7 separate regions of the Homo sapiens genome follow, and all the other regions are linked to region 1. The links are contacts of gene promoters, found by promoter capture Hi-C in blood cells and fetal thymus (Javierre and others, 2016). All regions are on one chromosome and are shown on one strand. Each heading gives the region's core, a stretch centred on a gene start or on the middle of the fragment in contact. The rest is flanking DNA. Distances are from core to core; before and after follow the strand shown. Region 1 holds the start of CCDC116 (coiled-coil domain containing 116). Region 2 overlaps PI4KA (phosphatidylinositol 4-kinase alpha). Region 3 overlaps SNAP29 (synaptosome associated protein 29). Region 4 overlaps CRKL (CRK like proto-oncogene, adaptor protein). Region 5 overlaps CRKL (CRK like proto-oncogene, adaptor protein). Region 6 holds the start of LZTR1 (leucine zipper like post translational regulator 1). Region 7 holds the start of THAP7-AS1 (THAP7 antisense RNA 1).

Region 1 (3,523 bases), core at 592-3,091:
ACCCCACCCAGCCATGGCCCTGGCTCTCACCCCTTCCCTCTCCAGCTGTAGCAGCCGCTTGAGGTTCTTCTCCAGCAGGAGTTTGTCCCTCACAGGTGGCAATGAGCCTTGGGCACCTAGGTCACTGTCCCGGCTGTGGGAGCCCAGACAGCCGGCCATGAGGCTGCTATGGCAGTTGGACATGGAGCTGGAGCTGGATGGGTAGTTGTTGGGGTGTCCAGTGCAGAGGGTCGGCCGTACACGGTGCCGGTGTACGGTGCTGAGGCTGGGCCGGGCATGTGCCCGCCGTCCACCACTTGGCACCTCCACTGGGTCCTGCACCTCCACAAGCGGCACCCCAGCCTCCGTCTTCATGGCAGCCATGCGCTCAGTCGCCTTCTCCACCACTGTCTCCAGGCTGTCCAGGACCTGGCTCTCAGTTAGGAAATCCAGAAAGTGGCCAAAGGGCTGAGGGTGCCTCTTGTTTCGGCGTTGGCCCTGGAGTGCTGAGCTGCCACATGTGGATGGTGGGTGTGGCACACGGCCCGGCTTGCAGGCTGGCCGCATTTCTGGGACCAGTGGCTTCTTGGGCAGCTGCACCTGAGCAGACAGGTATGTCACAGGGGGCAGGGGTGCCCTACAGGTGAAGGGTTCCCTGGGGTAACACTAGGACCTGGGTGGGAGTGAGTAGTGGAAGGAGCTGCATTTTGGAGTCTGGAAGCCCTGGGTTTGGACCCTGGCTCTGCCACCTACAGCCTGATGCCAGTGTGCAAGATGGCCCCTCTTGAGGTCCAATGTCCTCATCTGCAAAGTGGAGGTCTATTCAGGGTCACCCCGAAGCTTTCCTAACACCTACATTTCACACACACAAGTCCTGGCTAAGGAGTCTGCAAGCCTGCTTCTGCCCTGACACGTGGCAGGATGAGCAATCATGAATCTCTCGGAGTCTCCCTCCAGCTCCTCATCTGTCCATGCAGCAGGCCATCCCTGTATCCATGGCAGGGCTGCAAACAACATCTGAGGTCTTGAGTGCAGACAACACCTGAGGTCTTGAGCCCTGTGCTACCCGGGCCTGTTTCTCCAACTTGAGCCATAGGCACCTAGTCAACTCCATGCTCCCACTCTAGGGTCCCAGTCCACCCAAGCACCTTCTGGGTCGCTGGAAGTCAGGAGGAAACAAGGAATGAAATTGAGTGTGACAGGGGCAAGCAGTGGGGGACATAGGAGAAGTCAAGGCAATAAGGACTTCACTAAGAGGCCCAGAGAAGTCAATAGACAATGAGAAATGGGGGTTGTGGTCTTGGGTGCCAGGGTTGGTGGGGAACATGTTGTGGCCTCAAGGGTCGGCGCCCTGCTGGGCACACTTACCCGTGCACTGCACATGGAGTGGCTGGCCTCGTCATCGGCCAGGTAACCCGAGTGGTGGCGGCACCTGGCCATGTGGTCACCTGGCAGGTGACCGGGCCTGCTGCCCACCTCTCTCTTCAGCTGCGCATTCCTCTCTGCGTGGGGTGGGGAGACAACCTGAGGGTCTCCAATAGGTCCACGCATCTGTGGCCCTGGAGTCTGCGGGTCCCTCGCTCCCCGCACCCCGCCTCCTTCATGCATCCAGCCCTTCCTCTGCTCCATGGCCCCCATGCGTCTGCAGGCAGGCAGTTTCCAGAGTCATCGGGGTGGAATCGCTGAGGACAATCCTGTCTCCGATCATCTTTGGATCTGCGTGTGCTCGACCCGCCCTCCTCCCAAACCCTGGGCAACCTGGCTTTCACCCCAGCCCAGAATCAACAGACTCACCAGAAACACCGCCTTGCTCCGCACAGGCCAGTACAGTCTGCGCCCTCACTGGAGCAGCTGCACAGTGCGAGGAAGTCGGCTGGCGGCCTCCACTTGCTTATTTGCATACCACATCCTCATTGGTTCTTACCGAGGAGCTCGTCCACTTCCCTCTCCGACACAATGGTTGGGGGCGGGGCCCACATTGGCCCCACCTCCAATTCTCTGGGCTCTGCCCTCCCACACTCGCCTGGGAGCCGCAGGCTGAGGATGCTGGTGCCCACGCTCCCCGCTGCCGGGAGGACCCCCCACCCACCACCGAAGCTGGGGCTAGGCTCTTTGATCTGCTCCTGCCCCGAGGGGAGCCTAAAAGCCAAAGCCACGTCTTCCACCGGTGGCACAAGCACCTTCCTCGTGTCCTCCTTGGTTGCTGCGCAGCCCTGGGCCTCCTGCTCCTGTTCGTTTCCAGGGGCCTCTGCCCTTCCCGCGGTGTGCACAGCCCCAGGTTCTGCCTTGAGACCTCTCCCCTCTGCAGTGGAAAGAGTGCCGGCTCTAAGTCACAGACCTAGCTTCAGTTCCTGGCTCTGCTCTTTCCTGCCAATGTGACTCAACCTCTCAGCATTAGTCCCACACTGTAAATGGGCTTGAGTGTTCTTCCAATATGGGAGTATGGGATTCAATAAAATCTCCCTACAGCACACCCAGTAACCCAGTGGAGCCTTGTGTATTCTTTAATTAATTAATTTATTTATTTGGAGACGGGAGTCTCGCTCAGTCGCCCAGGCTGGAGTGCAGTGGCGCAATCTCGGCTGACTGCAAGCTCCGCCTCCCGTGTTCACGCCATTCTCCTGCCTCAGCCTCCCGAGCAGCTGGGATTACAGGGGCCCGCCACCACGCCCGGCTAATTTTTTTGTAGTTTTAGTAGAGATGGGGTTTCACCGTGTTAGCTAGGATGGTCTCGATTCCCTGATCTTGTGATCCGCCTGCCTTGGCCTCCCAAAGTGCTGGGATTACAGACCTGAGCCACCGCGCCCAGCGGAGCCTTGTATATTCTTACCTCCTCTCCCTCCCTCCTTTTCCCCTTTGCTCAGTAATACCCCACCATGGTGTCACTTCTTCCAAAAACCTTTTACTGTGAATTCTGCCACGCCCTACGCAATTCACAGTAAACCCCATTCCAGACTCTACCATACCATGTTGCTACTTATTTTTCTATCAGATGGTGCTTCTTTGGGGCCAGAACAGAGGCAAGTCACCCTTAATCTCTAATACTTTCAGTGTCTGGCACCAAGTAGGTGCTCAATAAATGTCAGTCTCCTCCTTCCCACCTGCAGACCCTCGGGACCTCTGACCTTTCCAAGATCAGCTTCCAGTGGAGAACGGTGGTTGGTTGAGGTCTGACAATTCACCAGTCACTATAAACACATCAGTCCTTATGCCAAGAGCATGGCTGAAGGACTCTATGAGGCTTTCAATCCTCACATGCCTCACGAAATATTGTTCCTCTCAAGCTCTGCTCTGTCCTCTCAGCTCTGGCTACCCACTAGGTCAGGGACAGAGAGGACATAGCAGGCCTGGGTGCTGGCCCCGAGGTGTGAGGTTCAGTCTTAGCTCCACTACTCCTGGCAGGACCACACTTTCGCTCTCTGAACCCCAGTTTCCTCATCTGTGAAACAGGAATGACATTACCAATTTCATAGCCCGGACACAAATACCACACTTTCCATGGGAAAAATCAAGACTGTCACATTGCAATGGAAACTGTGGCTGC
Region 2 (3,523 bases), core at 415-2,914, 780 kb after region 1:
TCTGCTTTCCTGGTTCTCACCTGTCTTCAGAATGTTGCTGAGCCACCCCTACTAAGCTTCCTCCTGGCCCTGCCTGGTTAATCTTCCTTTGTCAGGGAAGTTCAGTGGCCTGTTTGTGTCTCTCCTCTATAGGCCTGTATTAAACCAGTGGGCCCTCGATCCTGGGATACCGAGAGTCATGGGCAGAGCTGCAAAGTAGATAGCATTCCTTGTCCTTCTATTCCTCTCCCCACCCTCAGGAGGCTTTGATCAGAGCCCTTTTTCCATGTCCTAAAATGTTCTCTTTGTTTTCTTCAGTTAGAATGCCAGAATCCTGAGGTGTCGTAGCTAACTATTGATCTGGTTTTTGAAAGAAAATAGAGACGGAGTCTCACCATTTTGCCCAGGCTGGTCTCAGATTTCTGGGCTCAAGTGATTCTCTTTTCTTGGCCGCCCAAAGTGCTGGGATTACAGGTGTGAGCTGCTGCACCCAGCCCGATCTGATGTTTAAATGGCACTGCGGCATTAGGGACAGGCTGAACCCTCCTTGGTGGACATATGTGCTCCATAAGATGAGTTAATTCTAATCTGTAGTTGGGAGAATATGTGGCTTGGTGCTTAGGGTAGTGGGCTTTCTGGAGTTCATGGTTATTCAGTCTGTACTTTAGAGTGGTCTGCCATGGAGTAAAAATCATAGTGTTGGCGTTTTTCCAGTATCATGAAGCCAAGAATTTCCTATCCTCTTTCCCTTTGCTTTGTGAGGCTATGTTAAGAAGAGCCATCCGTAGAGCGAGAGGAGAGAGATAATGAGGGTCAGCGGAGGGTATACGCGGTGCCAGAATCATTGTTATTAAATCAACTAGAAAATATTTTAAGAAGAAATTGGAAGAAGAAAAAATCTTTACCTGTAACCATGCCATATTAACTATTAGTTTGCTAGGCTGCCATAACAAAGTACCACAGACTGGCTTAAACAACACAGATATATTTCCTCCTCATTCTGGAAGTTAGAAGTTCAAGATGAAGGTGTCAGCAATGTTGATTTCTTCCGAGGCCACTTTCTCCCTCTGCCTTCACGTAGCCTTCCCTCAGTGCCCTCCTGTGTCACCAGCTGTTTGTCTCCCCAGGGGGCAGAAATGTTCTATTTCTCACTCCTTACTGCAGATTCTCTTTTCTGCTGTCTGTGTTTGCAGTTTGCACTCATTGGAGGTGTGGTTGCCTCTAATCTTTCCCACCAGCAGCTATTTCCATCATTGACGTCAGTTGCTGAAATTTATGCATTTTATCTTCCTGATTGCTTATTTGTTTATTTATTTATTTACTTTTTGAGATGGAGTCTTGCTCTGTCACCCAGGCTGGAGTGCAGTGGCGTGATCTCTGCTCACTGCAAGCTCTGCCTCCTGGGTTCATGCCATTCTCCTGCTTCAGCCTCCCGAGTAGCTGGGACTACAGGCGCCCGCCACCACGCCCGGCTAATTTTTTGTATTTTTAGTAGAGACAGGGTTTCACTGTGTTAGCCAGGATGGCTTATTTATATTTTTATTTTTGTATTTGCTTTTGTTGTATATGTTGGCATGCTGGAGAAAAGCTTGGCCTTTCATGAACATTGCCAAGTTGGCCAGAACGCTACTTTCATTTGTGTGGTAAACTGACAAATAAATACAGAGTTGAGGCAGAAATCCTCAGGTCTCACTTGCATTTGTTTATTGAGTCCTGAGAGGCTCTGTCTCTGCTGCAGAAGCCATTCTCTTTTCCTGAATGTTTTTCTGTGTTTAAAGCTTATCTGGAAGCCTGGATTCAGGATAACCAACGCAGCCGGGCACAGTGGCTCACGCCTGTAATCCCAGCACTTTGGGAGGCTGAGGCAGGCACATCACCTGAGGTCAGGAGTTCGAGACCAGCCTGGCCAACATGGTGCAACCCTGTCTCTACTAAAAATACAAAAATTAGCAGGGCGTGGTGGTGTGCGCCTGTAAGCCCAGCTACTTGGGAGGCTAAGACAGGAGAATTGCTTGAACCCGGGAGGTGGTGTGGTGAGCTGAGATTGCACCACGGCACTCCAGCCTGGGCGACAGAGCAAGACTCCGTCACACAAAAAACAACAACAACAACAAAAAAAACCCAAGGCTATACTATTATGAAAGCAAAAGATGGCACCATCCGTTCATATGATAAATCTTTGGGGGTTTGCTGTGTTGCAGGCACTGTGCTAGGCCCTGGTATTAGAGGGGTGGATAAATAGACATTAAAAAAAAAATAGATAGGGTCTCACTGTGTTGCCCAAGCTGGTCTCAAATTCCAGGGCTCAAGCCGTCTGCCCACTTCGGCCTCGCAAAGTGCTGGGATTATAGGCATGAGCCACTGTGCCTGGCCTAGACATTTTTAAAAATAGAAATTACATTTTTTTGGAGACAGTTTTGCTTTTTCACTCAGGCTGGAGTGCAGTGGCATGATCATAACTTACTACCACCTTGAATTCCTTGGTTTGAGGGATCCTCCTGCCTCAGCCTCCCAAGTAGTTGGGACTACAGGCACGCACATTGTACCTGGCTAAGTAAAAAAAGAAAAATTTTTTTAGAGATGGGGTCTTACTATCTTGCCCAGGCTTAGCTCAAACCGTGGGCTCAAGTGATCCACTCACCTCAGCCTCTCAAAGTGCTGAGATTATAGGCTTGAGTCACTGTACCCAGCGAAAATTTTAAAAAATTTTAGTAGGCCGGGCGCGGTGGCTCACACCTGTAATCCCAGCACTTTGGGAGGCCGAGGCGGGCGGATCACGAGGTCAGGAAATCCAGACCATCCTGGCTAACACGGTGAAACCCCGTCTCTACTAAAAATACAAAAAATTAGCTGGGCGTGGTGGCCTGTAGTCCCAGCTACTGGGGAGGCTGAGGCAGGAGAATGGCATGAACCTGGGAGGCGGAGCTTGCAGTGAGCTGAGATCACGCCACTGCACTCCAGCCTGGGTGACAGAGCAAGACACCGTCTCAAAAAAAAAAATTTTTTTTTAAATGAGTATTTATAGTCCCAGAGACCTATGGGGACTCCTTTAGCATGCGCCACCACAGTCAGCTAATTTTTTGTATTTTAGTAGAGACGGGGTTCCAGGCTAGTCTTGAACTCCTGGCCTCAAGTGATCCACCTGCCTTGGCCTCCCAAAGTGCTGGTGTTAACAGGCGAGCCACCGTGCCTGGCTTGAGTGTTTAGATTTTTGTTGTGTTACTTTAGGGAATGTTGGGCTTTGTTCTGGTCGGCAGTTGCTTGTGGTTTGATTTGATCCTTCATAGGCTAGGTTTTTCAATAGTGCTTTCTTGAGATATAATTCACATACCACAAAATTTACCCATTTAAAATGTACAGTTCATCATATTTAGTGTATTCACAGAGTTGTCCATCCATCACCATGATCAATTTTAGGTCATTTTCATTGCCCTCAAAAGAAACCTTGCTGTTACCCTGCAGCCCTACCAGCCCCATCCCTAGACAACCACTAGTTTACTTTCTGTCTCTGTAGATTTATTCTGAACATTTTGTAGAAATAGAA
Region 3 (3,523 bases), core at 752-3,251, 750 kb after region 1:
TCTGCCTCAGATAAGTCTTTGGCTCTGGAGGACAGAGTCCAGGGCATAGAAGGAGGTGGCAGCTGTCTGGGGCTTCCCAGACAGCAAGCAGGAGAAAACCCGTGCACAGACACTCCATGTGCATCTTCATGGGTTTCAGTTTTGCCTTCCACTAGATACCTTTACAGCAGGGGAGGATTTTATTATTTGTCCCCTACACTTTGCCAACTCCTAACAGGGGGTGGGAGACTGACAGGGTGACCCAGGTCACCACGGGGGAGATTTCTGCTCAGGGAGTAGCGGTAGGAGGAGGCAGCAAGTCTGAGACACTACTTAGAATAAACTCACAGAACTGCCCACAGGCCAACACCTACTTGAATTTCAAGTAACTGACTTTTCCATTCAAAAAATAATCACTGGCTAGGGCGCAGTGGCTCACACCTATAATCCCAGCACTTTGGGAGGCCGAGACAGGCGGGTCACCTGAGGTCGGGAGTTCGAGACCAGCCTGACCAACAAGGAGAAACCTCATCTCTACTAAAAATACAAAATTAGCTGAGCATGGTGGTGCATGTCTGTAATTCCAGCTACTCGGGAGGCCGAGGCAGGAGAATCGCTTGAACCCAGGAGGCAGCGGTTGCAGTGAGCTGAGATTGCACCATTGCACTGCAGCCTGGGCAACAAAAGCAAAACTCTGTCTCAAAACAAAACAAAACAAAACAAAACATAATCACTAAGTGCTTGCCTGCTGGGCCCCAGATACAAAGTAGTGACAAAATGGAAACACTCCCATGCTGTCCTGGAATCTACAGTCTGATTGGGAAGACAGCAGGCAAACCAGCAGATACACAATCACAAACGGCCAGGGCAGCCCCCTGGAAACACAAGGGTCCTGAGAGACAGGGAGAGGAGGCCATACTAATGCAAGACTGACAGAAAGAGAAGGAGCCAGCCTACAGAGAGTCGGGGGAGCCCATCCAGGCAGATAGGGGCCACGAGGCAGAAAGAACTCACATCAGAAATCCCACACGAGCCTGCAGGTGATGAGGGCAGAAGGGACTAGGGCAGCCAAAGAGAGCCTGGACTGCACTGTGAGTGTGTGGGGTTCCATGAGAGAGTTCTGGAAGAATATACCCTTCACTTCTTCTTTTTTTTTTTTTTTAGGTGGAGTTTCGCTCTTGTTGCCCAGGTTGGAGTGCAATGGTGCGATCTTGGCTCACTGCAACCTCTGCCTCCCGGGTTCAAGTGATTCTCCTGCCTCAGCCACCCGATAGCTGGGATTACAGGCGCCTGCCACCACGCCCGGCTAATTTTTGTATTTTTAGTAGAGACAGGGTTTCACCATGTTGGTCAGGCTGGTCTTGAACTCCTGACCTCGGGTGATCCACCCGCCTTGGCCTCCCAAAGTGCTGGGATTGCAGGCGTGAGCCACTGCGCCCGGCCCCCTGCACACCCTTCCGTTTTGAAACATCATGCTGGAGGCTGTGTGGCCAAAGTGCCAATTGCAACACGAGCACTAACTCTTACCATCCCAGGCACTTTCTGGCTCAGGTAACCTTTCCACTGTTCTCAGAGGTAGCCCATTTCACAAGGAGGAAAACAGGGCTCTGAGTGGCCAGGTGGGAAGGATGAAGTGAGCGGTCACGTCCAGGCTATACTTTATGGCCTCTCAGGGACTCCTGGGTCCCTGGTGCTGTTCATGAAAGTGAGAGGTGGGGAGGGCTCGGCTGGGCTAGAAGTAGGAAATGGTGAGAAGTGGAGAGATTCCAGAGACAGTGAGGTGGCAAGATGGACCCAGCTTGGCGTGGGATGTGATGTGTGGTGAGGGAACTGAAGCTGGAGGATGCTCATGCAGGGGCTATGCTTGGCGTAAGCTGCCTGAAGGACAGTGGCTTACAGAAGCTGGTGTGGTGCTCAGTCTTACCTAGGTTGCTGTCGATCTTCTGGTGATAGGCTCGAAGGTGTGGGTTCTTTGGGTAAGCATCAGTACTCATGGCAGAACCAGCCCCTCTGGGGACAGGGTCTAAGTTTAGAAGGAAACACCAGGAGAGCGGTTAATTGACATTCCTTCAAATGCTGCTTCACACACCCAAAACAATTTCATCTGGAAAATGGGTGGAAGGAACGAAGGGGTTGGTTCTGAGGCTATCCAGAGGGATGAGGGAGGAGCACAGCGCAGGCTCATGGGCCAGAAGAAGAGACGCTTCCACGGGGTAGGAGAGGGTTCTCACTTTCCCTCAGTACTTGGGAGATCAAACACCCTCAAATTAAGGGTCACCTAACTCCTGGTGCACAAGCTCAGGAAAGACAGAGTCACACAAGTGACAATACAGAAGTGGAACTGCAATAATGCAAAACTACACAGTCTGTGGACAAAGTATAAAAATACAAATTGTTACGTTACATAAATGGAATTATGGGTAATTTCGTTTCTTTCTGAAATTTATTTCTACACTATCTTTGCACTTGAAACAAATACGCAAAAAAAAAAAAAAGAAATGTTAAATAATGCACATTTGCCACAAGAAATCTTCCTTGAACTTTTAGTTTCTTCTTTTTTAAAATTATCTTTCTTGGCTTGAATGAACTTCAGTTTCTAAACGCACACGGAAAAGCCCTGTCATCCCGGTTTATCTCTTTCAGGGAAACTTCACTTTCTAGACTTAGCACATTTCCTCCAGCACCAACCAACTGAAACCATTCTGCAAACTGTGTCGATTTTTTCTTCAGTCTTTTAAGTTAATATATACTGCACAAATAAAAACTCTCTTTAATTCCTTAAAATTGTGTCTTGGGTGCAGTGTCCTGTGCCCCTTCTCCAGGGTGTGATGAGGCCGGTTTTCCCAGCCCTTGCCTTTCAATTTACACTCACTTCCTCCACTTGCCTTTCCAGAATGAACTGTGCTGATGATGTTAGTCTCTCCTGCTCCCCGCTCTTCCTCCATCTGGGCTCTCCTCAGCTGCATCAACCACAACCATGGTGGGTTCCAGAGCTTCCATGGTGTATCGTTTTCTTGAAGGCAGCACAGTAAGCCTTTGGTTTCTAGCACCAATTTCAATGTACCTGGCTATTGTGGGGGCCTATGGAGGAGGCCCCAGGAGCCCTAAATTCCTTTCCAGATAAGGGATGTTTCTGGGCCTATCACTTGATAGAAGTGGAATGATTCGATCAACACTGTCTTGCACACCTTGTCCATGTGGCTGCTGCTCCTTCTGCTTGGGCTGGAGGCTGTATTAGTCCCTCACTGATGCTGTGACAAATGACCACAAACTTGTCTTACGGTTCTGGAGGTCAGAAGTCCAACATGGGTCTCACTGGGCTGAGTCGGGGTGTCCTCAGGGTTGCACTCCTTCTGGAGCTCTTGGGAAGAATCTAATTCCTCGCCTTTTGCAGTTTCTACAGTTCACCCGTGTACCTTGGCAGGTGGGCCCCTTTCTCTATCTTCAAGGCCAGCAGCATCTTCAGATCTCTGACTCTGCTGCTCTCTCTCCTGCTTCTCTTTCCACTTAAAAGGGACCTTTGTGATGACACTGGACCCAACTG
Region 4 (3,523 bases), core at 365-2,864, 710 kb after region 1:
CCGACCTGCCAGACCTCCCAAAGTGCTGGGATTACAGTCGTGAGCCACCACGCCCGGCCCAGAATTAAAATATTTTAATCTTAAAGACCCTCAGAAATCTAGTCTAATCATTCAGATCAAAAGGAAAAATTTAGGTCACAATTCTGTGGATTTGAGTTTTAAAAGTCACAAATCGAATGGCTACTAGTACTTTCCATGGGAACACAACTCTTTTTTTTTTTTTTTTTTTGAGACGGAGTCTCGCTCTGTTGGCAGGCTGGAGTGCAGTGGTGTGATCTTGGCTCAGTGCAACCTCTGCCTCCCAGGTTCAAGCGATTCTCCTGTCTCAACCTCCGGAGTAGCTGGGACTACAGATGCATGCCACCACGCCCAGCTAGTTTTTGTATTTTTAGTAGAGACGGGGTTTCACTATGTTGGCCAGGATGGTCTTGATCTCCTGACCTCATGATCCGCCCGCCTAAGCCTCCCACAGTGCTGGGATTACAGGCGTGAGCCACCACATCCGGCTGGGAACACAACTCTTAATTGGACAAGATTCCATTCTCAGCATGACAGTGTTCTTGTTTTTTGTTTTTTTGGAGAGAGTCTCACTCTGTCGCCCAGGATGGAGTCCAGCTGCACGACCTCGACTCACTTTAACTTCCACCCCCCAGGTTCAAGTGATTCTCCTGCCTTTAGCCTCTTAGGCACACGCCGCCATGCCCAGCTAATTTTTTGTATTTTAGTAGAGACAGGGTTTCACCGTGTTGCCCAGGCTGGTCTCAAACTCCTGCACTCAGGCAATCCACCCACCTTGGCCTCCCAAAGTGCTGGGATTACAGGCGTGAGCCACTGCACCTGGCCATGTTCTTGTATTTTTCTCTGAATCAAATTCACATGATTTTAACTACTGGTCAGGAGAAACGCAAAGGGGTTTATTCACAGAGTTGAATTCTATGCTGATTAAAATTACTGGCAATCCTTTCCCCATTCCAAATTATGGAAGTCTAGATTTGAGTTCTTAAATAATTAGAACAGGGGATGTAAAGAGGAGGCACAACCATGCTTCTTGTTTCCTCCTGTCCCTTCAGGGATTGGCTTCTACTTCACAGGTGTGTGAGGCTCCTCTTCTGGGCTCTCAGGTTAGACTAAGCACCCTTTCTCAGTTCTCCCACAGCTGTTTCACCATGCATGGAGATTAAATATATTAAATATATACAACTTACATTCATTCATTCATTCATTTTTTGAGACAAGGTCTGGCTCTGTTGCCCAGGCTGAAGTGCAGTGGCATGATCATAGCTCACTGTAGCCTCGACCTCCCATGCTCAAGCAATCTTTCCACTTCAGCCTCCCAAGTAGCTGGGACTTAAAGGCGCATGACACCATGCTCAGCTAATTTTTTAATTTTTTGTGGGAATGGGGTCTCACTATCTTGCCAGGGCTGGTCTCAAACTCCTGGGATCTAGCGATCCTCCTGCCTTAACCTCCCGAAGTGCTGGGATTACAGGCACGAGCCACCGAGCACAGCCAACCTTTACATTTTTTTTTTTTTTAGTAGCCAGGCGCGGTGACTTACGCCTGTAATCCCAGCACTTTGGGAGGCCGAGGCGAGCAGATCCCCTGAGGTCAAGAGACAGAAAACCATCCTGCTCAACATGGTGAAACCCCATCTCTACTAAAAATACACAAATTAGCCAGGTGTGGTAGCGCGTGCGCCTGTAGTCCCAGCTACTTGGGAGGCTGAGGCAGGAGAATCACTTGAACCTAGGAGGTGGAGGTTGCAGTGAGCCAAGATTGCACCACCACACTCCAGCCTGGCAACAGAGCAAGACTCTGTCTCAAAAAAAAAAAAAAAAATGCCAGGCGCGGTGGCTCATAACTGTAATCCCAGCACTTTGGGAGGCCCAGGCGGGCGGTTCACGAGGTCAGGAGATCGAGACCATCCTGGCTAACACGGTGAAACCCCGTCTCTACTAAAAATACAAAAAGTTACCCGGGCATGGTGGCGGGCACCTGTAGTCCCAGCTAACTCAAGAGGCTGAGGCAGGAGAATGGCGTGAACCCAGGAGGCGGAGCTTGCAGTGAGCCAAGATCCCGCCACTGCACTCCAGCCTGGGCGACAGAACAAGACTCCGTCTCAAAAAAAAAAAAATTTTTTTTTTAGTAACCAGTAAGCTCCTCAGAAGCATGATAGGGCTGTCTGATTCAATGTTGGTTCCATATTACCAGGTACATGTAATGCTCAAAGTCTGCTGAGTACAGTACATTATTTTCTTGAAGGGCCAACTTCCTTTAGTTTTTAATGGTAAAATTTTATTTATTCTAATTTTTCTTCATAGCCTGAATTTATCTATCGACACAAGCTAGAAATGGAAAATGTCAAACAAAGCAAGCTACCTTCTGAAGCATTCTGTTGTTAAACTGGAAACAGCCCTTATTAAATAAAAATACACTAGAGCTAGGCCAGGCGCAGTGGCTCACACCTGTAATCCCAGCACTTTGGGAGGCCCAGGCAGGTGGATCACTTGAGGTCAAGAGTTCAAGACCAGCCTGGCCAACATGGTGAAACCCTGTCTCTACCAAAAATACAAAAATTAGCCAGGTGTGGCAGTGCATGCCTGTAATCCCAGCTACTAGGGAGGCTGAGGCAGGAGAATCTTAAACCCCAGAGGCGGAGGTGGCAGTGAGCCCAGATTATGCCACTTCACTACAGCCTGGGGGACAGAGGGAGACTTGGTCTCAAAAAAATAAATAAAATAAAATCCACCATAGGAATACCACAAATACAAAAAGCAGTTAAAGATAAAAACACAGAAGATAACAAAGTTACAAATAGACCAAATCATCCCTTCTTCCCTTTCCCTTCATCCCCACCCACCAGCAAATCAATTTTATCTCCAAAATAGGCATCTCCAAGTCACAGCTCCACTGTCACTATTAGTCACCATCATTTTGTAGCTGGATTACAATAACAGCCCCAGGTCACTCCTCTGCCTCAAATTCCTTCCTTGGAGCCCACAGCACTTTAAATAAAAACCCAATTCCTGACCCTGATCTTTATCTCCAAACTCATTTTATATGTCCCCCTTTCTCCTTTAAGAAACACACTCCCAGGCCGGAGAGGGTGGCTCACATCTGTAATCCCAGCACTTTGGGAGGCTGAGGCAGGTGGATCATGAGGTCAAGATATAGGGACCATCCTGGCCAACATGGTGAAACCTTGTCTCTACTAAAAATACAAAAATTAGCCGGACATGGTGGCGGGTGCCTGTAGTCCCATGCAGTCCCAGCTACTCAGGAGGCTGAGGTAGGAGAATCACTTGAACCTGGGAGGCAGAGGTTGCAGTGAGCCGAGATTGGGCCACTGCACTCTAGCCTGGCCACAGAGTGAGACGTCATCTACCAAAAAAAAAAAAAAAAAAAAAAAGCCGGGCGCAGTGGCTCACACTTGTAATTCCAGCACTTTGGGAGGCCGAGGCGGGCGGATCACTAGGTTAGGAGATCGAGACTATCCTGGCTAACATGGTGAAACCCCGTCTCC
Region 5 (3,523 bases), core at 692-3,191, 680 kb after region 1:
GGCTTGTATGAACAGGCCTCTTTTAGCTAACAGGGAAATGCTTTAACATCAATACACTGATAAGTGGTTAATGATAAACTAGTTAATGGTCTCCCTAGTCACTAAAACACTAAGACATCAAATACATTAACGAATTTCCAGAGCTTGCATTTCCTTTGCTTGGGAGCATCACAGACACTTACTTAGACTGTGAGACCAGTATGAGCAGCACCAACTTTCTCTGGCAGCCTGACGAGATTGGGCCTGGGCACGGAGGTCTGGGCTTCAGTGAGTGGAGTTGAACGATTCATTAATGAGTCCAACGATTCTATGAACAACGCCACTTTTTAAGGAAGTTTAAGTCTGAACCTTAAAGGGGTACATTCACTGAAAAGCTGAACAGAAAACTGGCCAAGTGCCCTCCAACCCACTGCTCTTATCACTGGCAAAACAAGGTAAGCAAAGGTTTCCCTAAAGTACCCCCAACTCTGATGCTTTTTAAAACAAAGTAATCCAAGGGGCTGTGCACATAGCATGGCACACCACAACTGCATTATTTTGTGTGTTGTCTGCTACATGGCAAAACAAGGTACTACTGGCAACCAAGACAATAAAGGCCTCTGCTTCAGGGTTGTTCTTTTCAGATTCCTTTAGTTACAGCAGCTTCAGTTTAGAAGCTCAGAGGCATGAGTCATTCCTTGCACTATCATAAAAACCCAACCTGCTACTTAACCTGTTTAGAACACACAAGTCTAGGCCAGGCGCGGCGGCTCACGGCTGTAATCCCAGCACGTTGGGAGGCTGAAGGCGGGTGGATCACCTGAAGTCAGGAGTTTGAGACCAGCCTGGTCAACATGATGAAACCCCGTCTCTACTAAAAATACAAAAATTAGCTGGGCGTGGTGTGCGCGCCTGCAGTCCCAGCTACTTGGGAGGCTGAGGCAGGAGAATCGCTTGAACTCAGGAGGCGGAGACTGCAGGAAGGCGAGATTGCGCCACTGCACTCCAGCCTGGGTGATGCAGCGAGACACCGTCTCAAAAAAACAAAACAAAACAAACAAAACAAAACAAAAAAAAACCCCCACACAAGTCTAATTAATTAGTTTTCCAAAACCAAACCAAAACAAAAGAAAAAAAAAAGCCAGATTTTGGAGTTTTAGAACAGAATTCTCTCTTCCTTAAGGTTCACTTCCTGTTGTCCAAAGAAAAGCAAGATGGCAGCTAAGCCACTGCTTTGTGGAACAGCAAACATGCAGTATCTCGCCATGGCCTCAAGCTTTCTCTGGTGAACACAACAGAATCAGTCCCATGTACAAACGGGCAGCAATGAGAAGGAAGACCCTTTCCATGTCAACTTCTCTCCACTTGTGTGCTTCCATCAGTATTTCCAGTTTATGATCCAAAAGAACTCTAAAATCGGCTACTCTTTGACAATACGACTATGATACAAACATCAGGAGGCAGCCGCTGTGTGCATTCCAAATGTGTGTGCGACTGCCAGTCTGCAGAAAGCTGGACTTCGGCAATGCAGTGTGACTTGCCTATGAGAGAAAATGCTTTCCCACTTCAAAGGAGACTAGGACAGGCAGAACAACAAAGCAGCAGGAAACAGGGCAACAGCAATCACTCGTTTTCATCTGGGTTTTGAGGGTCAAAGATTTTGACGTGCGTAAAGGGGAAAAGCCCTTTGCGCCCGTTCACTTCGCCTTCCCACTGGCCATTTATATTCATCCTTGTGACTTTCACGATGTCACCAACCTGTATGGATGAAGAAGACAAAGTTAGCATTTCTCTGCAACAAGAAAAAGACAGTTTACATTAAATCACAAACACTACCTTATCCAAAGGGCCCATACATTATTATTTAGACACAGGGTCTCACTCTGTTAGCCATGCTGGAGTGTAGTGGTGAGATCCCTGCTCAATGTAACCTCTAACGCCTGGGCTCAAGTGATCCTTCCACCTCCACCTCTTGAATAGCTGTGACTACAGGCGTGCACCACCATGCACATTATTTTTTAATTTTTTATAGACGGGGTCTGTCGCCCAGGCTGGAATGCAGTGGCCCGATTACAGCTCATTGTAACCTTGAACTCCTGGGATTACTTGAGGTCAGGAGTTCGAGACCAGCCTGGGCAACATGGTGAAACCTCATCTCTTCTAAAAAATAGAAAAATTAGCCGGGTGTGGTGGTACATGACTGCAGTCCCAACTACTCAGGAGGCTGAAGTGAGAGGATGGCTTGAGCCCATGAGGCTGAGGCTGCAGTGAGCCGTGATAGTGCCACGGCACCCCAGACTGGGCAACCGAGTGAGACCCTGTCTCAAAAAAACAAAAATCAAAACACACACACACACAGAAACAGCTTTTGAGCACAAAGCAGCTCCCCACCCCACACCAACCTTCTATTTTGGCCACTAACCCCAACAGGATAGAAATGAACACATGATTCTGAGAATGGTTAAAGTCAAATTACACAAAAAGGTGTATTTTAAAAAAAGACCTTCAGGTGGTAGTCATTGTAGACAGGGTGTTACTCTGTTCAGCAGAGCACTAATCTAAGGTTCTGTATTGTGTACTTAGGTCCATAAAAACGCTACTTGAATATAAGACCCACCTAAGATCTAAGACAATAAGAAATAAGCTTTTGTCTGCTTAAACACATATAGAACCAGGCATCGTGGTACATGCCTCTAGTTCCAGGTCCTTGGCAGACTGAGGTGGGAGGACTGCTTGAGCCCAGGAGTTTGAGACCAGCCGGCGCAACGCAGCAAGACTACATCTCAAAATAAAAACAGGCATAAGGTTTTTATGGCACAGTCCAATGGTCCGTGCCATGAACTTTGGAGCATGCAGGACACCAAACAAATGTCCTGGTTCTGCCACTTTTAGAAACTACATGACTGTAGCAAACTGCTTAAGTTCTCCAAGTCTCAGTTTCCTTCCAACTTTGAAAGGTTCTTGCAGTAATTAAATGATTGTTACTTGAGTAGAGATTCCTGAATAGAACCCATCCCCCAACCCCACGCCCCCTCTAATGATCATACCCTTTGGATGCACGAAGGGAAGAGCTGGAATTAGCACTGAGAAGCACAACACTGTATATATCAGAGGATTTCCAACCTTGTCACCAACAAGGGTCCTCTCAAAACCAATGAGGAACAGGCTGAAAACGGGGTCTAATAAATGACTGTGATGGATACTAAGCAGCCAAAGAAGACTACGGGAAGATTAAAGATGAGGCTAAGGATTGAAAGCTGCCAAGAACACTCACACCTCACGCCTTCCAATTAACTTGTGAGTCTGGCGGTCTTCAACAGGATACTTTCTACATGATCCTACCTAATCAATTAAATAAATTTACTGAACATCTACTCCATGGAAAATGGGCAGGTCAGTTCGTATCCTTAAAAAACTTCTGTCTTTTGAGTGGGATACACAATGAATCTTTGTCAGATAATAACATAGTGTGAAAAGCACAAAGTGGCCGGGCGCAGTGGCTCACACCTGTAATCCCAGCACTTTGGGAAGCTGAAGTGGGTGG
Region 6 (3,523 bases), core at 1-2,500, 650 kb after region 1:
AGTACCCTGTCCCGGGACATCGGGCTCTGGGACTCCCTCGGAACCCTCTCCCCTGCCCTGAACAGCGTCCTGTACAGCACCATCCACCTCATTACCAGATCCTACCCCAGGACACCACCCCCCGGCTTCGCCCCTGGACCCGCCCTGGGACCCTCGCAGATCGCCCTTCCTGTCCTCAGGACCCCATGAAGCCCACCGTACCGGGCACCCACGAACTCGTCGCAGGGCGGGAGGCGCCGCCAGCGATGCACTGTTTCGAAGGGCCCGAAGTTGAGCGTCAGGTACTCGACACTGTCCGAGCAGCTATGGTCGAAGTCCACGCTCGGGGCTACCTTGGACCGCGCGCCGCCTGCCAGGGCCGCAGCCCCGATCTGCCCCCCCGTGCTGCCCGGTCCAGCCATCCCGGGTCCACGCCGGATCGGCCGCGCTGTAAGCCCAACTTGCGGCCACCGCCCCGGGCCGGCTGGAGAAACCACATTTCCCGGCGAGCCCTGCGCTGACGGTGCGGCACGTCCGGCCAGCGCCGCACTTGCGCCCTCCAGCTCTTCCCGACAAGCCTACCGCTTGCCGAGACACCGCGGGCGAGCGCAGGATGCGGTTGTCGACCGCGCGGCGAGCGTGGGACCTTCTGGGGAGCGTTTCAGGCTATGTACTGGCGCTGCGTTGTCCCTTCCAGTGAATGCAGTGTGTCGTCCCTAGCCCCGTCGCGACTGCTCTTCCCGGCGCCTCCCAGGCCCACGCAGCCCGAAGACCCGCGGCCGGCTCGCAGTTCCCGGCATGCCCTGGGTCTGCGCGTGGCTCCGGCCTGGATCGTCTGCCGCTGCCGGGATCCCCCATGGAGGGTTCCGGGCTCGCAGCGGCCTCTGCAGGCGGCTCAACGCTCCCTTTCCTGCTAGCGCCCTCAGCCCTGACCCCCAGCAACTCCCCTCTCCCCTTGGCTTTCTTACTGACTGAGAGGCAGCCCGGCGAGGAGCCTCTGGATTCTCATTCCTACTTAGCAGGGCCTCAGCTCCTTCACCTCCGACATGGGGATTGAGAATGCTCCGGCTATGAAAAGCATGGGGTCTGTCTCAGGACACAGCTCCCACAGCCCTAAGTGGGCAAATGCCCCAAAGTGTCAAGCATGAGCCACCTCTGAAGGAGCATTTACTATCTCAAGACCTTTGGGCATGTTGTCCCTTCTACCTGGAATACCCTTCCTTCAAAACTCAGAGCCAAAAGCAAAAAGCGTTCGCTGATCGCAGAGGGGGAGAGGGATGTGGGAGGGCTTGGGGCGCAGAATTAGTTGCTACCTCCTCTGGGCGTTCACAGGCCAAATTTCCTTGGTGTGGCACCTGGCATTCTGTGATTGTGCCTGTTTCCCTGTGGTCTGGTCCTGTGCCTATTGGCCCAATTACACTGGGAGTCATACAGATCTGCAAATTTGTGCGTTTTAATTTTACGGTAATGTTTAACGTGTTGCAGGGTTCTTCAGGGGACCAGTCCCAATAGAGGGAGAAGAGGCAGGGCTTGTCCTGCCTCCAGTGCCAGCTGTCAGTGGCAGCAGAGGCCTTGAGGGTTGAGCATCTTCTGGATCCAGCAGAGGCCTCCCAGGAGGGGAGCCAGGTGGCTGAAGGCAAGCACTGGGAGGGCTCAGGTTCTGCCCTGGGGGATCCTGGGACTGGAGATTGGCACCTGCCCCCAAGGCTTGGCCTGTGCCCTTGGTGCCCCCTTTGCCTGCCCAAGTCTACTGCATGTGAGCTCAGGATCCTTTCCCCGTAAGCCAGGACATGTCGCCAGTCCTGCAGGAGTGAGGGGAGGAGGGGTCAAGACAGAAGAAAACAGGCTCTCCACTCTGGGCACCCTGAACAGCTGGCCCTTGAGGACAGCAGGGGGTCTGTTCTGTGCCAGACCCTAGTGCCCAGCAGGGAGGTGTACTTGGACAGAGGGAGATAAGACCATTGGGTGGAGGGTCTGGGCTGACATGGGAAAGGCTCAGAACGGTCAACATGAAGGACACACGTACTTGCTGTGCAGCACAAACAGCCTTCACGAAGGCAAGAGAGAGAAACGGAGAGAAGGCCAAGGAGAGAGCATGTCATTTATCATGTCCCCTTCTGGTCCTCCATTGTTTCCAGCCTGAAGCCTGCCCCTGTCTCATAGCCTCCCAGTGGCCTCCAGGCTGTCCCCAGTCCCTGGGAGCTCTCTCCCAGAGGGTGAATCTCATTGACACCACACCAGGATAAGGGAACTGGCTGGTGTTGAGTGAAACCTAGAACCACCCCCACCATCTATGTGGAGGGCATACCCAGGGCATCAGTAGCTGCATTTCCCACCTAGCTTCTGCCAGGCTCAGCACAACTATGTCCAGTTAGGTGTCCCACGCCTGGTGATTGCCCATGCATTGGGCCCTGACCCCTTCCCACAGCACTGGCCCTGCCTGGTGACACACATCTCTATCCCTTCCATCCACCATGAACACATAACCAGCCTGCTCTCAAACCATGATCCTTGCCCCACACCTCCCTGTAGTCCTGTAAGCCTCAGGCGATGCAAACCAAGAGGGGAAAGGCCCTGGAGGGTTGTGGGGGCGGCTGGCTGTCATAGGCACCTTAGCCAGTACTCCAGGGAACTACTCCCACCCCCAGGCTTCCCACACCCACACTCACTCCACCTCCCGCTTCCGGATGGCACGGCCTGAGGCCAGCACCTCAGCGACCTTGGACACAATGGGATCGTAGTTCATGCTGGCCACGGCGATCACCTCGTCGCCTCTGCAAGGAGAGGATGGCCAAGCCTGAGGACTGCGAGGCAGCAGCCCCTTTTTGAAAACCCTGATGCACTGCTGTCCATCTGGGGCCCAGGGAAGGACCTACCCCAGGGCAACAAGAATGGCCTGAGCACCCAGCCCTCCCTGCTTTGCACATCGCGGCTTGACCGTGCACAAGCTTCGGGCTTTCCTAAGGAAGCTCCAGCACTCCTCAGCGGGGCTCAGGGCTGGGCTCTTGTTCTGGGATTTTGCCTGGGATGAATCCCCCTTCCCGACTGAGCTCCCGCTGCTTCGCGCCAAGCTGCACCCCGGTGCTCTCACTTAGTGTAAAAAGCCACAAACTTCAGCTCCTCCAGATCCCCCTGGATGATGACGTCGTCGAAGCCTTCTCCGTAGCCTGTGGGCCGGGCAGGTGGGTGGCACCCACGTGAGCCGGGGGAGGGAACGAGACGTCACAGGATCCCCTCCTAACCCCGCCCAGGCCCTGCTCCATACGTCCTTTTAGGTAGTTCGTAGCCTTGCCGCCAGCGAGTTCTTACCGGCCTCTTCCTAGTGCGGTCATAGCCCTGCCCCTAGGCTCCCAGCCCCGCCCCACACCCAAGCCCCGCCCCTAAACGCCCTCGGCCCCGCCCCCATCCGAGGCCCCGGGGTTACCCGCGTAGCGCAGGCTCTTGCCAAACATGGCGGTCCAGAGGTAGGGCACAGTGCTCATCTCCGCCTCCTGCGCCAACATGTTCTGGGCTGCCACGCGCCCTGCGGGACCCAGGGCCGTGA
Region 7 (3,523 bases), core at 407-2,906, 630 kb after region 1:
GCGAAATCTCAGCTCACTGAAATCTCCGTCTTCCGGGCTCCATCTTACATGCCCATAATCCCAGCTACTCAGGACGCTGAGGTAGGAGAATTGCTTGAACCTGGGAGACAAAGGTTGCAGTGAGCCGAGATTGCACCACTGCACTCCAGCCTGGGCAACAGAGCTAGACCCTGTCTCAACAACAACAACAAAGAAGGAGGAGAAGGAGGAAGAAGGAGAAGAAAAGAAAAAAAAAAGTCGTCAAAGGATATTAATTGTCGATAGATAACAGATAATGCCAAAAAATATAGAAGCAATTCTTAAAACACAGTGTTGGAACTGGTCCACAGCTCTGATTTTTAATGAGCTCCCATTTCTGAGGCCAATATAAACTTCATTCTATGCTGCCCATCTCTGACAGGTGGGCATTAACTACCAGCCCCCCACGGTGGTCCCTGTGGGAGACCTGGCCAAAGTGCAGCGGGCGGTGTGCATGCTGAGCAACACCACGGCCATCACGGAGGCCTGGGCCTGCCTGGACCATAAGTTCGGCCAAGTGCGCCTTAGTGCACTGGTACGTGGGGGAGGGCATGGCAGTGGGGGAATTCTCCGAGGCCCGCGAGGATCTGGCAGCTCTGGAGGATTATGAAGATGTGGGCATGGATTCCGTGGAAGCTGAGGCTGAAGAAGGCGAAGAATAGTGAGGGGAGGGTGCGGCAGGCAACCATCCCTCTGTATTCCCCACCATAACGCTAGGAGAGCTAATTACCTATTAAAATTTCCGTATTGCAAATTAGCCGGGCGTGGTGGCGGGCGCTTGTAGTCCCAGCTACTGTGGAGGGTGAGGCAGCCGAATGGCGTGAACCCGGGAGGCGGAGTTTGCAGTGAGCCGAGATCGCGCCACTGCACTCCAGCCTGGGCGACAGAGCGAGACTCCGGTCTCAGGAAAATAATAATAAAATAAAAAATAAAATTTCTGTATTGCGATACTGTCTTTCTCCTGTGTTGTACTTTGAGAGATTCCTCCTCCAGATAACCCTCCCTGAAGTCCACCTCCCCAGTACGAGAGTGAGTGCGGGCTCTGGTTTTTGTCGGGTTCTTTCGTGCAAGCGTCCCAGGCCCCGTTTTATTTCTTCCGTCAGAGGTCATTCCGAGGCGAGCTGCCGCCCCTGCGGCTTTCGAGGCTCCCAGGACACTGCCGCTTTCCGCTCCCGGGCCGCTCCCGAACGCTGGGGCCGCTCCATCGTGCCGGGGTGTTTACGGAGAAAAGTGAGGCCTGAGCGGACGAAAGAGAAGCCCACGTGGGCGACAATACTGGTAGTCCAGGGAGCTGGGACGACGCGGGCGCGTCAGAAACTCGCACGCTCGCGCCGCTTACTAACCCAGCTAGCTAGGACCTCGCCCCGCCCCGCCCCGGTGGCGGGGGCACCTCCGGCTCTCCAGTCTCTATGGTACCAACTTCCGGCGCGCGCTACCCCTCGCGAGACTTCGGCGGCGCAGCAATGGCCAGAGCGTGAGTGCCGCTGACAGAAGTCAAGAGAATCGGCTGGGACGGGGTTGGGGCGACAACGGGCCGGGGGGGACCCGACAGGCCAGAGCCCCTTGGGGAGGAGCGGCGGCTGGAGGCGCGAGGCTCCTCCGGATGCCCGGAGAGCCGCTTGCGACTTAACTCCCGCCTCTTTCCCAGATGCCGCGTCACTGCTCCGCCGCCGGCTGCTGCACACGGGACACGCGCGAGACGCGCAACCGCGGCATCTCCTTCCACAGGTCAGCGCGCGTGCGCCGCGGGCTCACGTGCGCATGCGCTAGTTGTTGCTCGCCTCGGGTCGCAACTGCGTAGAGGCTTCGCGCCTTTCTCAGATACTGAGGAGGCTTGAACCTGTGGGTGGGAGGTGAAGCGGAACGGTCCCGGCGGGACTGAATGCAGTCGGGAAGGGGAGGACGGGAAGTCTAGCCGGCTTGGACCCGCCCCACTCTGTTACCTGCCAGATGACGCTGAGGAAACTGCTTTTCTTCTCGAGGCCTCCGTTGCCTCGTCTGTGCCCGGGCGGTGGTGCTTACCCGGCGGGGTCGCAGGGAGGTCTCGTGGCGGCGCGTGTTGGGTCTGCGTTTCCCCTCTGGGGTGCTTGGGCAGCATGAGCCCAGGGCTGTGGACAGCCTGGTGCTCACGGGTTTGTGGCTCCACAGACTTCCCAAGAAGGACAACCCGAGGCGAGGCTTGTGGCTGGCCAACTGCCAGCGGCTGGACCCCAGCGGCCAGGGCCTGTGGGACCCGGCATCCGAGTACATCTACTTCTGCTCCAAACACTTTGAGGAGGACTGCTTTGAGCTGGTGGGAATCAGGTGGGCCTCCCTGCCGGCCGACGCTGGGGTAGGATGTGGGGCTCCCGGCGGACTGGGACAGCTGCAGGTCATGGAAGTCCCTTGAGCAGCCTGCGTCCAAGGGGGCTGTTTCCTGTTCCCAGCTCTGCACAGTGAAACCCACCCCCAGGATCACTGTGCCTGTGACACAAGGGGAAAACAGGAGCCTTTCCAGAGAGTATCTTTCAGAGCCCCAGTCTTGCCAGCAAGTCCACAAATCAAAGAATTCTTTCTGGCTGGTCAGCCCAGCTCGGCTTATGCAGGCTTTCCACACACCTGGACTGTGAGGAGTCCTGCGGGGAAGCGATTGGTGTAGCTGTAACTTGGCGTTCCCCAGACGTATTGTTTGCACGATGCCTTCCAGCATCCCACGGCGCTGCTGCTGGGGGCAGATTGGCCTGGGGAGGCAGCACTTGCTCTCCAGCTCATCTGGGTTGCTTTTCCCCGCAGTGGATATCACAGGCTAAAGGAGGGGGCAGTCCCCACCATATTTGAGTCTTTCTCCAAGTTGCGCCGGACAACCAAGACCAAAGGACACAGTTACCCACCTGGCCCCGCTGAAGTCAGCCGGCTCAGACGATGCAGGAAGCGGTATGTGATATGGGTGGGGGATGCCCCACTCCCACCCCTAGGCTGAGGGACTGGGCCCTAGGGGTGTCTGCCAGCAGTCTCGCTGGACAGGGTTCTTGCTACACAGAACCTGTGGATCGGGTTTGGGTGTTAAGGGTGGATCAGGTGGGCTGGTGGAGGGGGGTCTGGCAAGCCCTCAGCCTAGCCCATCAGTCTCTCTCTTCCCCCTTACCAGCTGCTCCGAGGGCCGAGGGCCCACAACTCCATTTTCTCCACCTCCACCTGCTGATGTCACCTGCTTTCCTGTGGAAGAGGCCTCAGCACCTGCCACTTTGCCGGCCTCCCCAGCTGGGAGGCTGGAGCCTGGCCTTAGCAGCCCCTTTTCAGACCTACTGGGCCCCTTGGGTGCCCAGGCAGATGAAGCAGGCTGCAGCGCCCAGCCTTCACCAGAGCGGCAGCCCTCCCCTCTCGAACCACGGCCAGTCTCCCCCTCAGCGTATATGCTGCGCCTGCCCCCACCCGCCGGAGCCTACATCCAGAATGAACACAGCTACCAGGTGGGCAGCGCCTTACTCTGGAAGCGGCGAGCCGAGGCAGCCCTTGATGCCCTTGA

The links. Contacts are between HindIII fragments. The CHiCAGO score rates a contact against its expected background, and 5 or more counts as called.
Region 2: a fragment that was not itself captured here is called in contact with the fragment with the promoter of CCDC116 in region 1 in 2 of 17 cell types (naive CD8 T cells and naive B cells); the score reaches 5.7 in naive CD8 T cells.
Region 3: a contact is called between a fragment that was not itself captured here and the fragment with the promoter of CCDC116 in region 1, in 1 of 17 cell types (neutrophils). The highest score is 8.0, in neutrophils.
Region 4: a fragment that was not itself captured here is called in contact with the fragment with the promoter of CCDC116 in region 1 in 3 of 17 cell types (naive CD8 T cells, naive B cells and total CD4 T cells); the score reaches 8.4 in naive CD8 T cells.
Region 5: a fragment that was not itself captured here is called in contact with the fragment with the promoter of CCDC116 in region 1 in 2 of 17 cell types (naive CD8 T cells and endothelial precursors); the score reaches 5.5 in naive CD8 T cells.
Region 6: a contact is called between a fragment that was not itself captured here and the fragment with the promoter of CCDC116 in region 1, in 3 of 17 cell types (non-activated CD4 T cells, naive CD4 T cells and activated CD4 T cells). The highest score is 7.3, in non-activated CD4 T cells.
Region 7: the fragment with the promoter of THAP7-AS1 here is called in contact with the fragment with the promoter of CCDC116 in region 1 in 2 of 17 cell types (endothelial precursors and M2 macrophages); the score reaches 8.3 in endothelial precursors.

The regions. Positions count from the first base shown.
Region 1 is chr22:21,631,078-21,634,600 of GRCh38, reverse strand. CCDC116 (coiled-coil domain containing 116) reads right to left here and starts at 1,841. Exons shown (of 5, transcript NM_152612.3): 1 at 1,774-1,841; 2 at 1,348-1,481; 3 at 31-579. The coding sequence starts at 1,419. RefSeq lists an enhancer at 1,610-2,109. The HindIII fragment of the contact is 2,744 bases long and covers 822-3,523 here.
Region 2 is chr22:20,849,907-20,853,429 of GRCh38, reverse strand. The region is part of intron 1 of PI4KA (phosphatidylinositol 4-kinase alpha); the gene reads left to right. Among named protein-coding and RNA genes, the nearest start is that of PI4KA, 7.1 kb to the left of the region's middle. The HindIII fragment of the contact is 190 bases long and covers 1,570-1,759 here.
Region 3 is chr22:20,881,950-20,885,472 of GRCh38, reverse strand. It overlaps SNAP29 (synaptosome associated protein 29), which reads right to left. Exons shown (of 5, transcript NM_004782.4): 4 at 1,904-2,002. Among named protein-coding and RNA genes, the nearest start is that of SNAP29, 25 kb to the right of the region's middle. The HindIII fragment of the contact is 5,220 bases long and covers 1-3,523 here.
Region 4 is chr22:20,921,893-20,925,415 of GRCh38, reverse strand. The region is part of intron 1 of CRKL (CRK like proto-oncogene, adaptor protein); the gene reads right to left. Among named protein-coding and RNA genes, the nearest start is that of CRKL, 6.2 kb to the right of the region's middle. RefSeq lists an enhancer at 138-785. The HindIII fragment of the contact is 4,315 bases long and covers 1-3,523 here.
Region 5 is chr22:20,947,925-20,951,447 of GRCh38, reverse strand. CRKL (CRK like proto-oncogene, adaptor protein) reads right to left here. Exons shown (of 3, transcript NM_005207.4): 3 at 1-1,737. The coding sequence ends at 1,603. Among named protein-coding and RNA genes, the nearest start is that of LINC01637, 7.4 kb to the left of the region's middle. The HindIII fragment of the contact is 1,368 bases long and covers 1,258-2,625 here.
Region 6 is chr22:20,979,250-20,982,772 of GRCh38, reverse strand. It overlaps AIFM3 (AIF family member 3), which reads right to left. Exons shown (of 21, transcript NM_001386814.1): 17 at 3,404-3,502; 18 at 3,071-3,146; 19 at 2,649-2,753; 20 at 2,006-2,026; 21 at 1,415-1,781. The coding sequence ends at 1,742. It overlaps LZTR1 (leucine zipper like post translational regulator 1), which reads right to left and starts at 476. Exons shown (of 21, transcript NM_006767.4): 1 at 202-476. The coding sequence starts at 401. RefSeq lists a silencer at 279-408 and enhancers at 799-898, 949-1,028, 3,079-3,373. The HindIII fragment of the contact is 3,358 bases long and covers 1-2,929 here.
Region 7 is chr22:21,000,055-21,003,577 of GRCh38, reverse strand. It overlaps THAP7-AS1 (THAP7 antisense RNA 1), which reads right to left and starts at 1,656. Exons shown (of 2, transcript NR_027051.1): 1 at 749-1,656. THAP7 (THAP domain containing 7) reads left to right here and starts at 1,460. Exons shown (of 4, transcript NM_030573.3): 1 at 1,460-1,746; 2 at 2,167-2,322; 3 at 2,791-2,931; 4 at 3,146-3,523. The coding sequence starts at 1,667. RefSeq lists silencers at 465-855, 1,497-1,606, 1,627-1,796 and an enhancer at 2,397-2,606. The HindIII fragment of the contact is 5,606 bases long and covers 1-3,523 here.